Regions from separate parts of the Homo sapiens genome. Here region 2 is linked to region 1. The links are contacts of gene promoters, found by promoter capture Hi-C in blood cells and fetal thymus (Javierre and others, 2016). All regions are on one chromosome and are shown on one strand. Each heading gives the region's core, a stretch centred on a gene start or on the middle of the fragment in contact. The rest is flanking DNA. Distances are from core to core; before and after follow the strand shown.

The links. Contacts are between HindIII fragments. The CHiCAGO score rates a contact against its expected background, and 5 or more counts as called.
Region 2: a fragment that was not itself captured here is called in contact with the fragment with the promoter of SLC26A2 in region 1 in 1 of 17 cell types (erythroblasts); the score reaches 5.5 in erythroblasts.

What each region holds. Positions count from the first base shown.
Region 1 is chr5:149,957,197-149,963,912 of GRCh38, reverse strand. It overlaps SLC26A2 (solute carrier family 26 member 2), which reads right to left and starts at 3,155. Exons shown (of 3, transcript NM_000112.4): 1 at 2,934-3,155. RefSeq lists a silencer at 3,100-3,219 and enhancers at 4,260-4,339, 4,136-4,739. The HindIII fragment of the contact is 4,280 bases long and covers 1,187-5,466 here.
Region 2 is chr5:149,816,206-149,822,295 of GRCh38, reverse strand. It overlaps PPARGC1B (PPARG coactivator 1 beta), which reads right to left. Exons shown (of 12, transcript NM_133263.4): 2 at 1,690-1,863. Among named protein-coding and RNA genes, the nearest start is that of MIR378A, 86 kb to the right of the region's middle. RefSeq lists an enhancer at 2,605-3,121. The HindIII fragment of the contact is 7,137 bases long and covers 20-6,090 here.

The DNA of each region.
Region 1 (6,716 bases), core at 1,906-4,405:
TCCCTTCCTAGATACAATATATAAAACAGAGGCCAGGCACAGTGGTTCATGTCTGTAATCCCAGCGCTTTGAGAGGCCAAGGCAGGAAGATCACTTTGAGGCCAGGAGTTCGAGACCAGCCTGGGTAACATAGCAAGATCTTGTCTCCACAAAAAAAAAAAAAAAAAAAAAAAAGTTAAACAAATATGCAAAATAGCAGGCCGGGTGCAGGGGCTCATGCCTGTAATCCTAGCACTTTGGGGGGCCAAGGCAGGTGGATCACCTGAGGCCAGGAGTTCGAGACCAGCCTGGCCAACATGGTGAAACCCCCTCTCTACTAAAAAATACAAAAAATTAGGCCAGGCGCGGTGGCTCACGCTTGTAATCCCAGTACTTTGGGAGGCGGAGGCAGGCGGATCACGAGGTCATGAAATTGAGACCATCCTGGCCAACATGGTGAAACCCCGTCTCTACTAAAAATAAAAAGATTAGCCGGACGTGGTGGCACATGCCTGTGGTCCCAGCTACTCAGGAGGCTGAGGCAGGAGAATCACCTGAACCTGGGAGGCAGAGGTTGCAGTGAGCCAAGATCACGCCACTGCACTCCGGCCTGGAGACAAAGTGAGACTCTGTCTCAAAAAAAGAAAAAAAAAAAAATTAGCCAGGCGTGGTGGCATGTGCCTGTAATCCCAGCTACTTGGGAGGCTGACAAAGGAGAATCACTTGAACCCAGGAGGCAGAGATTGCAGTGAGCCAAGATGGCGCCACCGCACTCCAGCCTGGGCAACAAGAGTGAAACTCCATCTCAAAAAATAAATAAATAAATAAATAAATAAATAAATAAATAAATATAGCACCACTGCCATTGCTGCCATTTCCATGTCTTCCTCCTGGGCCCAGCCCTGCCTTGCACTCCTATGCCCTTTATTTTTCTCCATAGCTCTTCTCACCATTCCATACCACACATTGTTAATTGTCTTTCACATGAGGGCACTGACTTGCTCTGTTTTGTTCAAAGCTGTATTCTCAGTGTCTTGAACATGTCTTGCACCTAATAAATGCTTAGCAAGTATCTGTTGAGTGAATTAGAATTTAACAGCTATATGATAAGGAAAAAGGAGTTACTTTCCCCATTCTCACTTAACTCTCCAACCCCACTCTTCCGCCCCCACATGCCAAAACCAAGCTTATGTCAAGAAATTAAGCTTGGCAAGCATCTGCCTGGGGGTTTACATTCACTAAAAGCGTGATTATCCTTCTGTCAATCATGGGGGAAAATAAAAAATAAAAGTGTGGGCAGGGCACAGTGGCTCATGCCTGTAATCCCAGCACTTTGGAAGGCCAAGGCAGGAGGATTGCTTGAGCTCAGGAGTTTGAAACCTGACTGGGCAACATGGTGAAACACCATCTCTACAAAAACTACAAAAACTAGCCAGGTATGGCAGCGTGCACCTGTGGTTCCAGCTACTCAGGAAGCTGAGGTGGAAGGTTTGCTTGAACCCACGAGGTCAATGCTGCAGTGAGCCTAGATCGCGCCCCTGCACTCCTAGCCCGGATGACAGAGTAAGACCTGGTCTCAAAAAAAAAAAAAGTCAAATCAGAAATTAAAAAAAAGTGATTTTTTTCCCTCAAAAATTACCCCTAGCCCAGAGTATGTTCACCTCTAGATCTTCCCCTAGGAGGCAGCACATTACAGTACAATAATTGTCAAATACAGAGAGCCGTTAGCTTCTTAGGACCATCCCTGCAAATCCAAGGATGAGATCCAGGACTCCACACGCTAGATGATGCTGAACGAGTGAGCTTAGGACCACACTTGGAGAATCACTGGATGTGTTCTGGAAGTCAAACAGATCTCTGTTCAGATCCCAGCTATACTGCTCAGCAGTCATATGGCAATGGTTTTGTAAAACTTCACTGTACTCAGCATCAATTTCTGACCTGTAAAATGGGGTAACATTACCTAACTTGCTGGTTTGTAAGGCTAACACAACTACCTACCACAGTGCCTGGCACATAGCATTTACTCAATAAACGACAGCTATTAGTCTCTGTCCCTTGCTATATCCTGCCTTGAGATTCCTGATTTTAAAGGGTCCATTCCTTTCCCACAGCTTTGGCCCTCCATTTCTTATTGATTCAATTTTCAAAAACAAAAAGTTCTGCTTAATCTAGTATTGCATATCACATTAGTTGTAGATTTCACATAAAGAACTGTTGGGGACAAGGAGAAAAGACAGGTTAACTAGAATGGGCGCCGGAAGGCAATTTAAGTTCTGAATGTTTCTAACTCACTGTGATCCCCAATCTGTGCAAGGAAGGAGCCCAGGCTGATAGTCTATGAGTTTGGAGAGCTGGGTACAAGTCCTAGCTCTGCAAAAGACTTGCTGTGTATTTTTAGGCAAGGCTCTGGGCCCTCTCTGTCTTCTCAGTGTTTCCATCCATCCAGTGAAATAATACCAACTTAGTGTGTGAGTCCGAAAGAACAGGTCCTGATTTTGTACTTAATCGGGTGTGTGATTTTTAATAACCAAGATAACCAAGCCGTCTCGCCTGTGCCGGCCTCAGTTTCCCCATCTGTCCGAGGTGGTGGTGGCTCCTATCTCCTCGATCCCTATTCCAGATATCTAGGTTCGAGACGGATCAACGAGGACTGGAAAAGCAGCGGAGTGCGTGGCACCCGGCGAGATACGGCGAGATACGCGGGATGGAGGGCGGGTGGGCAGCCGCCAGCCAGACGGGCAGGCCCGGATCACCAGGGTGCAGTGCCACTCGCCCGGCCCCGGACCACCCGGGAAATAACCTGACGCACGCCCCGCTCCACGGCGGCGACCCCTGATCTGGGATTCTACCGCGCGGGGACCCAGGCAGAATGACTCTGGGAGGGGCCCGCTGACCGCTTGGCGGCCAGCACCGCTCCCTCCCTCTTCCCTGGTCCGCTTCCCTCTTCTCACCTCTCGGGTCCGGGCCGCTGCAGGCAACCAGGCGCCGCGGCACGCGTCTTCCACCGTGGCCTGACTGAGGTGGACACCGCGGCGCCGACAGAGCTATACCTGCCTGTCCCTTTCCCCGCCCATCGCTCGGACTCCGAAGGAGGCGGGGCCCGGCTGCCGGGACCTACGGGCGCGGCGAGGACGCACCGGCGAAGAGATGCCGGAGGCAGAGCCAGTGTAAACGCCCGCGGCCGAGGCCGTCACGTGGTACTGCCGGGCGAGCGACGCTACCACCAGCCAATAACTCGGCCCAGACCGGGGAGGGTGCCGCCCTCTGACTACTCTCCTCCTCGCGATTGGCTGCCCTGGACAGAAGAGCACAAGCTGGAAGGATTCTTAGAGAGGTTCCGCCGCTGCTTCCGTGGCGTTGACTCCTCCGCGGAGAGAGCGGATGACCGGCCTCGGCGGCTAGCCTGTGGCCAGGGTGAAATAGCAGGAGAGGCGCGGAAGCGCTCTGCCCAGAGTTTTGAAGTGCTCAGCGTTTGCGATCGGCCACCTCTTTATCCAGTACTACTTGGGACCCCGTTCCCTCCCACCCGCCTTTGTAGAACGGGAAATTGAGGCCCCGAACGGGAAAAGAGCTCCTAGAATGTTAGAGGCTCTTGCCTCACTATAACTCATTCCCCATCAAAGATTCCAGTAACCGGAAGGCTAAAATGTAAATTAAAAGGCCGGGCGCAGCGGCTCACGCTTGTAATCCCAGCACTTTGGGGGACCGAGTAGGGAGGATCGCTTGAACCCAGGGGTTCGAGATCAACCTGGGCAGTATAGCCGAACCTTGTCTCTATAAAACATAAAATGTAAATTAAAATGTAATTGTAGTTTTTGTTAAAATCCTTAGTGGGTTTAATGGCATTTGTAGGTAAAATCAAACCCTCCCTATGCCAAGGTACTGTGTGCTTCGGGCACTCATCTCTGCCCCCCTCCCTCGCTGATCTCCACCCATACTGGCCCCCTTTGCTCGCCACGCTTGTTCTCTTTAGGGACCTAAACATTGGTTCTGGCCATCAGATTTCTTCTGGTCTCTCAGGTCTCAGCCAAAACACCAGCCCTCTCCATGGCGAGGCCGTCCCTGACCACCCTGTGTAAACTAGCCACAGCCAGTCACATCCTTTCAGGTCATCTTGATTTAATTATCTGCCTCGAACTGGCCACTATTGAGTATGTATTAATTTGTTCATTCCTCACCTTGTTTGTAGCTTGCATGTGCCCACTAGATGGGGGTGAAGGAGGGCCTGTGAAGGAAGCATGATTAACTTCCTTTCCTTCCCTTTCCGGTGAACGTCTTCACAGTCATTCAAGGAACTCCCTTTCTTATCTAGAGATGATCCCCAAGTTTCTGTCACCCATCAGATTCAGAGTTTCCAAAACGTCATAAGCTGTCTTGGGAATCAGAACACAAACACTTGGGTTCTACTCCTGATGCTGCCCCTTGTGGCTGAAGACAAATCATTTCACCTCAATGGGCATCAATGTTTTCACCTTTCAAAGGGTAGTTAATGCCCTAGCACCCAGAGTCCTGGAGAGGGTCAGGTAAGGCAATCAGTGTAAAGTACTTTGTTTAAGCCCTAAAGACTGCACAACAAGCAGAATAAACAGTTTCTGGATGTTTATCACGTGCCTGCGCAGAACTCTTCACATTCATTACATGAGTTAATCCTCACAACAGCTTTAGAGGAGGTGCCATATTATGATTCTTCTTTTTTTTGGTGAGGAAATGAGGCTCAGAGATGTTAGGTGATCTGCCCAACGTCCCACAGTTAATAAGTGACAGTAGCATGATTTTAACACAGTCACGTCTGACTGCAAAGCCCACTCTTAACCACTACACTCACTGTGCTATGCAAATGCAAGAATCCACTCCAATCCTTGCAGCTGACATTTATTCATTTATTTGTTTGTTTTCTTGTCTGTGTGGGGAAGCCAGGACCTTGCATATAACAGGCACCAATAAAGATTGGCCAAATTTGGCCGGGCATGGTGGTTCATGCCTATAAGCCACTTGAGCTCAGGAGTTAGAGACCAGCCTGGACAACATGGTGAAACTCCAACTCTACCAAAAATAGAAAAAAGTAGCCAGGCATGGTAGCATGTGCCTGTAGTCCCAGCTACTCAGGAGGCTGGGGTGGGAGGACAGCTTGAGCCCAGTAGACAGAGGTTGCAGTGAGCCGAGATCGTGCCACTGCACTCCGGCCTGGGTGACAGAGTGAGACCCCATCTCAAAAATAAAAACAAAAGCAAAAATAAAAAACCAGACCAGTCAAATTTAATACTGCCTATCATTCTTTGATTTTATTTCATACATATTCATCTGCATCACAGACGAAGAAATTGGGGCTCAGAATAGTATTACTTACCAAGTTTATTCAGCTAACAAGCAGTAGATTTTGAGATGGGATGGAGGTGGATTTTGACCTGGGAGCTGTGACATGCCAGCACCCAAGAACATGCAAGCTATGGCCCGGGGCCAGGAGAAGGTGCTAGTAAAGAAGCTTTAGGTTGGCCATTGGTGCCTCTCTGCCTCCTAGTTCAGCATCCCTGGCTGCTGTTTACTGTTGTGGTCCCTCGCTGATCTCCACACACACATCCCAAGGAGCTCCATGGAGCCAGACTTTGGTCTGCCATGCTACTTTCCCTTCACCGATGTTCCAGTGCTCCACAACAGGAATCAAAGGCAGCGGGTGGAGGGGTGGGGTGGGGGGTGGGGGTGAATAACTAAATCCCTGCTACTGGAAAGCTGGCCAATAATTAGCTTTTCCTCGATGACATCACATCAGCAGCACTTGGATCTCTTTACGCCTCCTAGCCTGGGCATTTTTTCCCTCCTGTTGGTCTCAGGGTTCACAGAGGTGACTGGCAGCCGGAGGGCCACATTTTATAGCCATTACTCTTCCCAAACAGCTTTTCCAAAGCGTAACTAATGATGTATGCACTGGAGGCATGGTGGGCCAGCAAATAAGTCCTTTCAGGTTGGGGCCACTTCAGGATTTACCTCCTCAGCATTCCTGACCACCCATTCTTCCCAGGTGGGACTAGTCACTTCCTCTGAGGCCCCACTGGACCTTGAACTCCCACTGGATTCCCACTATTGAATGAACTATTCCTAGTGTGCTATTCAGGCTTCATTTTCACTGCTATAAGTGTCTTTTTTTTTTTTTTTTTTTTTTTTTTTAAGAGACAGGGTCTTGCTCTGTCACCCAGGCTGGAGTGCAGTGGCGCAATTATAGATCCCTCTAACCTCGAACTGCTGGACTCAAGTGATCCTCCCACCTTAGCCTCCTGAGTGTCTAGAACCACAGCCGAACGCCACCACACCCAGCTAATTTTTTATTTTTTTGTAGAAATGGGGGTCTCCCTATGTTGCCCAGCCTGATCTCAAACTCCTGGCCTCAAACTCCTGGCCTGAAGTGATCCTCCTACCTTGGCCTCCCAAAGTATTGGGATTACAGGCATGAGACACCATGCCTGGGCCATTTTACTTTTTTGCAAAACATTTTGTAAAATGTTAGCTTGATTGTTCTTGGAAATAGGTAACACAAAGTAAACAAATTAAAAAGGTCAAGGGTTTACAGTAAAAAGTAAATCTTCCTCATAGCCTATTCTTACCCTGGTGTACCTTTCTAGAGGCAAACACAGCACCCATTTTCCTGTGTTGCTTTCCAGGTTTATTCTATACCAGCAGTTCTCAGTTCTGCACAAGGTCAGGAGTTCGTGACCAGCCTGGCCAACATGGTGAAACGCTGT
Region 2 (6,090 bases), core at 2,339-4,838, 140 kb after region 1:
TAGGACCTCATCAGAAGCTTACTGGTGGGTCTGGCCATTTTCTGAGTAGGTGGGGGGCCTATACAGTCTCAGTGGGGATGGTTTTCAGGGAGCATCCAAACCCCTTTTCACTCATGAGTTCTCTGCAACCTAAAAGCATTTTCTGGAGTTGGCCCCCTAAGAGGAAAGGAACAATATAGCAAAGGAATTGTCCCCATTGTTCAAGCAAGAAAATGGAGGTCTCCGGTTGGAGCCAGAACTACAGTTTGGTTCTGGTAATTCCTCACAGGGTTGGCAAAGGGGTTCAGTGTAGCGGTGAGGGGTGTGGGTTCCTAGATTACAGTCTTTGCCTGGATCCTTACTAGCTGTTTGACCTTGGGCGAGTTACTCAGCCTTTCTGAGCTTCCCTTTCCTTGTCTGTAAAATCGATTATTAGGAGTACACAACTGATAGCTTCTCTTCCTCAGAGAGGCCTTTCCCGACCACTCAGTCCACAGTCCCTTCTCTATTTCCTTTCTGCCCTTATCACAAGTGACTGCTGTTTGTTCACATGTTTACAGACGGTAAAGTCCTCGGATGAACACAGTGCCTGACACATAGGGGGCTTGGTAAACGTTTCTAAAAGGATGATAAAATCCATGAGGAGGACGCTTGGAGAGGACGCTTGCGGCACACCACCTTGGTGTTCAGCACACGCGATGTTATTGTGGTTGTTATTATTATTATACTGCCAGACAGGCACAGGGAGCTATGGCTTCTGCCCCCAATCTTTATGAGGGAGAAAATTCCAAGAAAAGAATCATGAATCTGAATGTGTCCATCACCCAGCTAAATACGGCCAATCCAATTTCATCGATTACCCTCTAGGCCGCACACTCCCACCCACACATGCAAATCCATGCAGAGCTTGCTTTCTTCTGAAGCAAACCCCAGACATCATATTATTCCGTAAGAGGCCTTCTTACAGGAAATGCTAGCCATTACATGCCCCTGAGGCTGGGCGCTGGAGCACACAGGGCTGGGAGAGGCACATGCATAATAGTGGTTCTTGGCACTCCCTCTTATTAAAGAACCTCTAGGCTCCAGCTGAAAAAGGGAGATAATTGTATTTACAACTGAGAGTTGTTAAGAAATTTAAATGAATTAATATACACAAACAGGGACAGCTCTCCCACAGAACAGCTGCTCAATAAATGCCAGTCATCTCATTATGGTATCATCATGGTCGTAAAGTCCCGGCTCTGGAGGCAAGAAGACTGGGTTTGAATCCAGTTCAACTTCTGACTAGGTTAATTGCCCTAGGCACATGACTTAACTTTTCCAAGCCTCATTTTCCTTATCTGTAAAATGGGAAAATACTGGACCCTGTCTTGCAGGGTGGGGACGAAGACTGGATGAGATAATGTAGGGAACAGAGGACTTGGACCTCTGTGGCACACGAAGGGGCTTGGTTCTGCTCGGGAGGCCTAGAGAGCAGTTCATCTCACCCTTACTTTCTGGAGGTGACACAGCAAGGGCCAGGTGAGGCATGTGCGCTGCGCCAGATCAGGGGCCCATCCAGCACGAGAAACCGGGGCCCAACAGCTTTGGTGGGTGAGGGGATTTCTCTGCATGAGCAAGTGCAGGAGAAGGCAGAGCAGGGCAGAGCCGGGATTTTGAGGAGAGAGAGGCCTGGCAGGGTGGGAGGAGGGGAGACTGGAAAGGGCATACCTGGAAGAGCTCGGAGTCATCGGGGCTGTACTGGTTGGGTTCAGTCTCTGAGTTCTCTGGGCACCACTGCAGCTCCCCAAAGCAGGTGGCCGAGTCAAAGTCGCTGGCATCCAGCTGGGAGAGGTCAAGTTCTGGAAAGTCAGCATAGAGTTGCTCCTCCCCGGACCCTCCACCCTGAGGAGACAGGAAGGAAAGAGGTGGATCAGAGCTGAGGCTGGCTAGACCCAAGCAGGGGCCCTCTCAATAATGATGCAGCTAATCTGGACCCGTGGCCAAGGCCCGATTTTGCCAAATGACCAAGAAATGGAAAGATCAGCTTCACCCCTTGGTTGAATCTTCTGGTAGCTAAGCTAGGCCCCAGCAGTACAAAACCCCCTGCTGCTCTCCCCTCTGCACTCCTACATATCCCTCAAGGCCCTGCCCACATACATCTCTGTCCTCCTGTTACCAGAACTGTTTTGTTGAAAACTTTATTAAAGACTGTAAATAGAGGAGCTAATCCTTTACACATATGTCCCCACTTATAAGTGGACTTCTTAAAGCTAACAATGCCTCTATATTAATAATGAAACAAAAAACAGCAATAATAATGACTGACAGTATTGTGTGACTGCTAGGTTCTGGAGAAACACCCATTCATGTTCCCAGGAATTTTATAGGAATATATGTAATGTCTAAAATTACATATATGATGTAATATACGATGGAACATATATGATGAACATAAAATTACATATATGATATATGATGGAACACCAATCAATAGACAATATGTAAATAAAGCCATAAAACACCCGTATCACGGGCCGGGCATGGTGGCTCATGCCTGTAATCCCAACAATTTGAGAGGCCAAGGTGGGCGGATCATTCGAGGTCAGGGGTTCAAGACCAGCCTGGCCAACATGGCGAAAGCCCGTCTTTACTAAAAATACACAAATTAGCCAGGGGTGGTGGCGCATGCCTGTAATCTCAGTAACTTGGGAGACTGAGGCATGAGAATCACTTGAGCCCGGGAGGCGGACGTTGCAGTGAGCTGAGATCGAGCCACTGCACTCCAGCCTGGGTGACAGATGGAAACTGTCTCAAAAAAACGAAAAACAAACAAAAAAAAACAAAAACAAACAAACAAACAAACACCCATATCATGAAATACTACAGTGCTGTTGAAAAGAATGAGGAAGATCTGTGTGTTCTCCAAGACACATTAAATAAAAAAGTTGTAGAATACCAGCATGTAAAATATAACCCCACATGTGTAAAGAAAGTAAAAATCAAGCCATATATTTCTCTATGTAGGATAGCATGTATGCAAACACACAGGAAAAGATCTAGACGGTCATAAACCCACCTAACAGCAGTGAGTAGGGGAGAAGGGAGCCACAGGTGACTCTGATAACAGCATTGCCTGAATCAGTGGTTCTCAAAGTGTAGTCCCAGACGGGCAGCACCAGAATCACCTGGAAACCTGGTATGTTGGAAATAATATAAATTCTCAGGCCTAAACCCAGAGCTACTGAATCAGAAGCCAATCAATTTCTCACCCTGGTCTCCCCAGTTTAATGGTTACCAATAGAAGAACTGCCCTACAGATTCAGAAATAGCCTGAGTTGGGGGGCTGACACAGAAACAGAATGGCTTGGTGATGTTCTGTTGGCCCTGGGGCCTGGCAGAAGTGAGTTGAGATCCCCATTCACCAGTTGTGGACTTTGGGCAAGTCCCTTCATCTGTAAAACGTGGACAACAACAATATCTGCCTTATATGTTAAGATTAAAAGAGGCAATGTCATTATAGCCCGGCCTAGTAACTGCTCAATAAATGTCAGCTAAGAGTAATATAACAAATAATGATAATAATAATGATAAAACAATGGTATTTCATGGTAGGCAGAGAGGAGCGGGAACTTCTCAGAGAACAAAAAGAGGCATATGTGACACTTAAGAGAAACAGGTTTTCCCCAGACCTTTCCCTTAATTGTTCCCACTTACTAGGCCTCATAAATTATGAATAAATGTATATTATTAGCTCAACTTGACACAGGAAAAAGGCTTTTATCCAAATTTGGGTCAAATGTCTTAATTGGCATTTTGCAAGAATCCTGCCTACACAGGCGGCAACAGGCCCAGGTCCTCTCAAGCGGCCGGTCCCCTGTCCTCAAGCAGGCAGCAAGGTGCCCAGCAAGTCTGTCTCTGGGAGCATGGCCCCACCACCCTGCCCACCACCTGCCCATTCTTTCTCCAATCCACATGTATTCCACAATCCTCATTATTGAGAGCCCACTCACTCTGAGCCAGGCACTGTGATGGTGGGTGGGGAAGGATGACATTAAACAAATAATCACACAAACAAAACATGTAATTCTAAATCATGACTCTCCAGAGAAGAGCAGAACACTTCTGAACCTGATTGGGAATCTGAAGATGAGAGGGACACAGGTGCTTCCTCAATCTCTGGGTCCCCCAGGTACCGCTCTCCCCACAAGCCCAACTGTCATGCCCCCCAACTACAAATCACCAGCACTCAGTGGCTGCCCCTGCTGCGGGAACTCAGGTGGATTCTCTCAGCTGCCTCTTGGGAGCTTCTTTCTCCTTCGTGCCCAAGCAGACTGTGGGGATGCAGCCGTGGTCCTGTTCTACATGGATAATTGGTTTGTTTCCTGTTTTGGGCCATTTCTAGTAAGTCTGCAATACTTGCATACAAGTCTTGTTTGGACATATGTCTTTACTTCTCTTGGGTAAATACCTACGAGTGAAACTGTTGGGCCATATGGTAAGCATGTGTGTAAGTTTATAAAACAGAAAACTGTTTTCCACAATGAGAGAACACTCACTTTGTACACTCCCATCAGCTGTATGAGTTCAATTCTTCTGCACCCTCTCCAACACTTGGTATTGTCAGTCACTTTATTTTAGCCATTCTAGTGGGCATGTTCAATGCTACTATGAGCCAGGCACTGTGTTATATAAGACTCAGCTCCTTCCTCCGTGAGTTGACATCTTAGTGAGGGAAGAAAACATGTAAATATTTCATTCTAGACTGAGTTAGTGCTATGAAGGAGAAACAAACAAGGTGCACTGATGGAAGATAACAGGAAACAAAATCTATCTTTTCACGCTCTTTGTGTTTAGAGACAGGATCCTGCTCTGTTGCCCAGGCTAGAATACAACATGGCTTGATCACGACTCACTGTAGCCTCAACCCCTTAAGTTCAAGCAATCCTTCAACCTCAGCCTCCTAAGTAGCTGAGAGTACAGGTGTGCACCACCACACCTGGCTAATTTTTCTTTTTTAATTTTTTGTACAGACAGGGGTCTCTCTATGTTGCCCAGGCTTGTCTCATCCCACCTCAGCCCCACAAAGTGCTGGGATTACAGGTGTCAGCCACTGTGCCCAGCCCAGAATCTAAATCAGATGGAATGTCAGGAAAAACTTCTTGAAGGAGAAGCCAGGTAGTGGAAGAGGTGGGAAGAGCATTGCAGGCAGAGGGACAGTCAGAGGCAAAGACCCCCGTGGGGACTGAGCCCAAGGCACAAGGCGTTGAGGTCAGTGAGGCTGCAGCTTGGTGACCAGGGGTGGGGGATGGAGGAAATGGGAAAAGATGACACTAGAAAGGCTGGTGGAGGCTGGATCAGGAAGGGATTGGAAAGGATTTGGGTTTTACCCCAAGTGTGATGGGGGTAGGACCAGCATAGAAGCAGGGAGATGGTTTAACAGCTGTTGTAGCCATCCAGGAGGGGACAGGTGGTGGGTTGGGGAGGTACCTCTCAGACACCATCTAGGGACTGTGGGACACAAGGGAGGGCCAAAAGCAGAGACACGGGTTGCTAGGCAGCTGGGGCCTCCGAGGCCAGCAAAGCCCCCAGCAATAAGATCTTGGGTGAGCTCTATGTTCCAGATCTCCCTCTCTCCAGTAACTCAGAGCAGCCACCTTTGTAGGCCTTGCTTCTTAGAAACAGCTTTAGAACCAGAGTCCCAGAATCCCAGACTAGCCAGGAACCCGCAGCTCTGAGAGTTGTCCAGGTAAGTCATGGTGAACAATCTGGGAGGCAGAGGTCCCTTCAAAAACCAGACAAAAGCTATGTACATTTTTCCCCAGAAGATGCAGGTATGTGCACAAAATGTACACTTAACTTTTAGAACTTCATAGAACTAGCTTAAGAACTCCCAACCTAGCTGGTCTATCTCCTTCACTTTGCAAATATGGAAACTGAGACCCAAAGAGGATAATGGATTTGTTCGGGGTCATCCGGTGAGTGTCCTTCCCTCGAAACCATACCGCCTCCTTTACAAAATGTCCATAAAATGGCTGTGATGACTACACTTATTGATTGCCCATAGCAGCTCAACATACTCAAAGTGTACCCAGCACATAAAAACAAAGAAACCTCAGCTTCGCGGCCTTG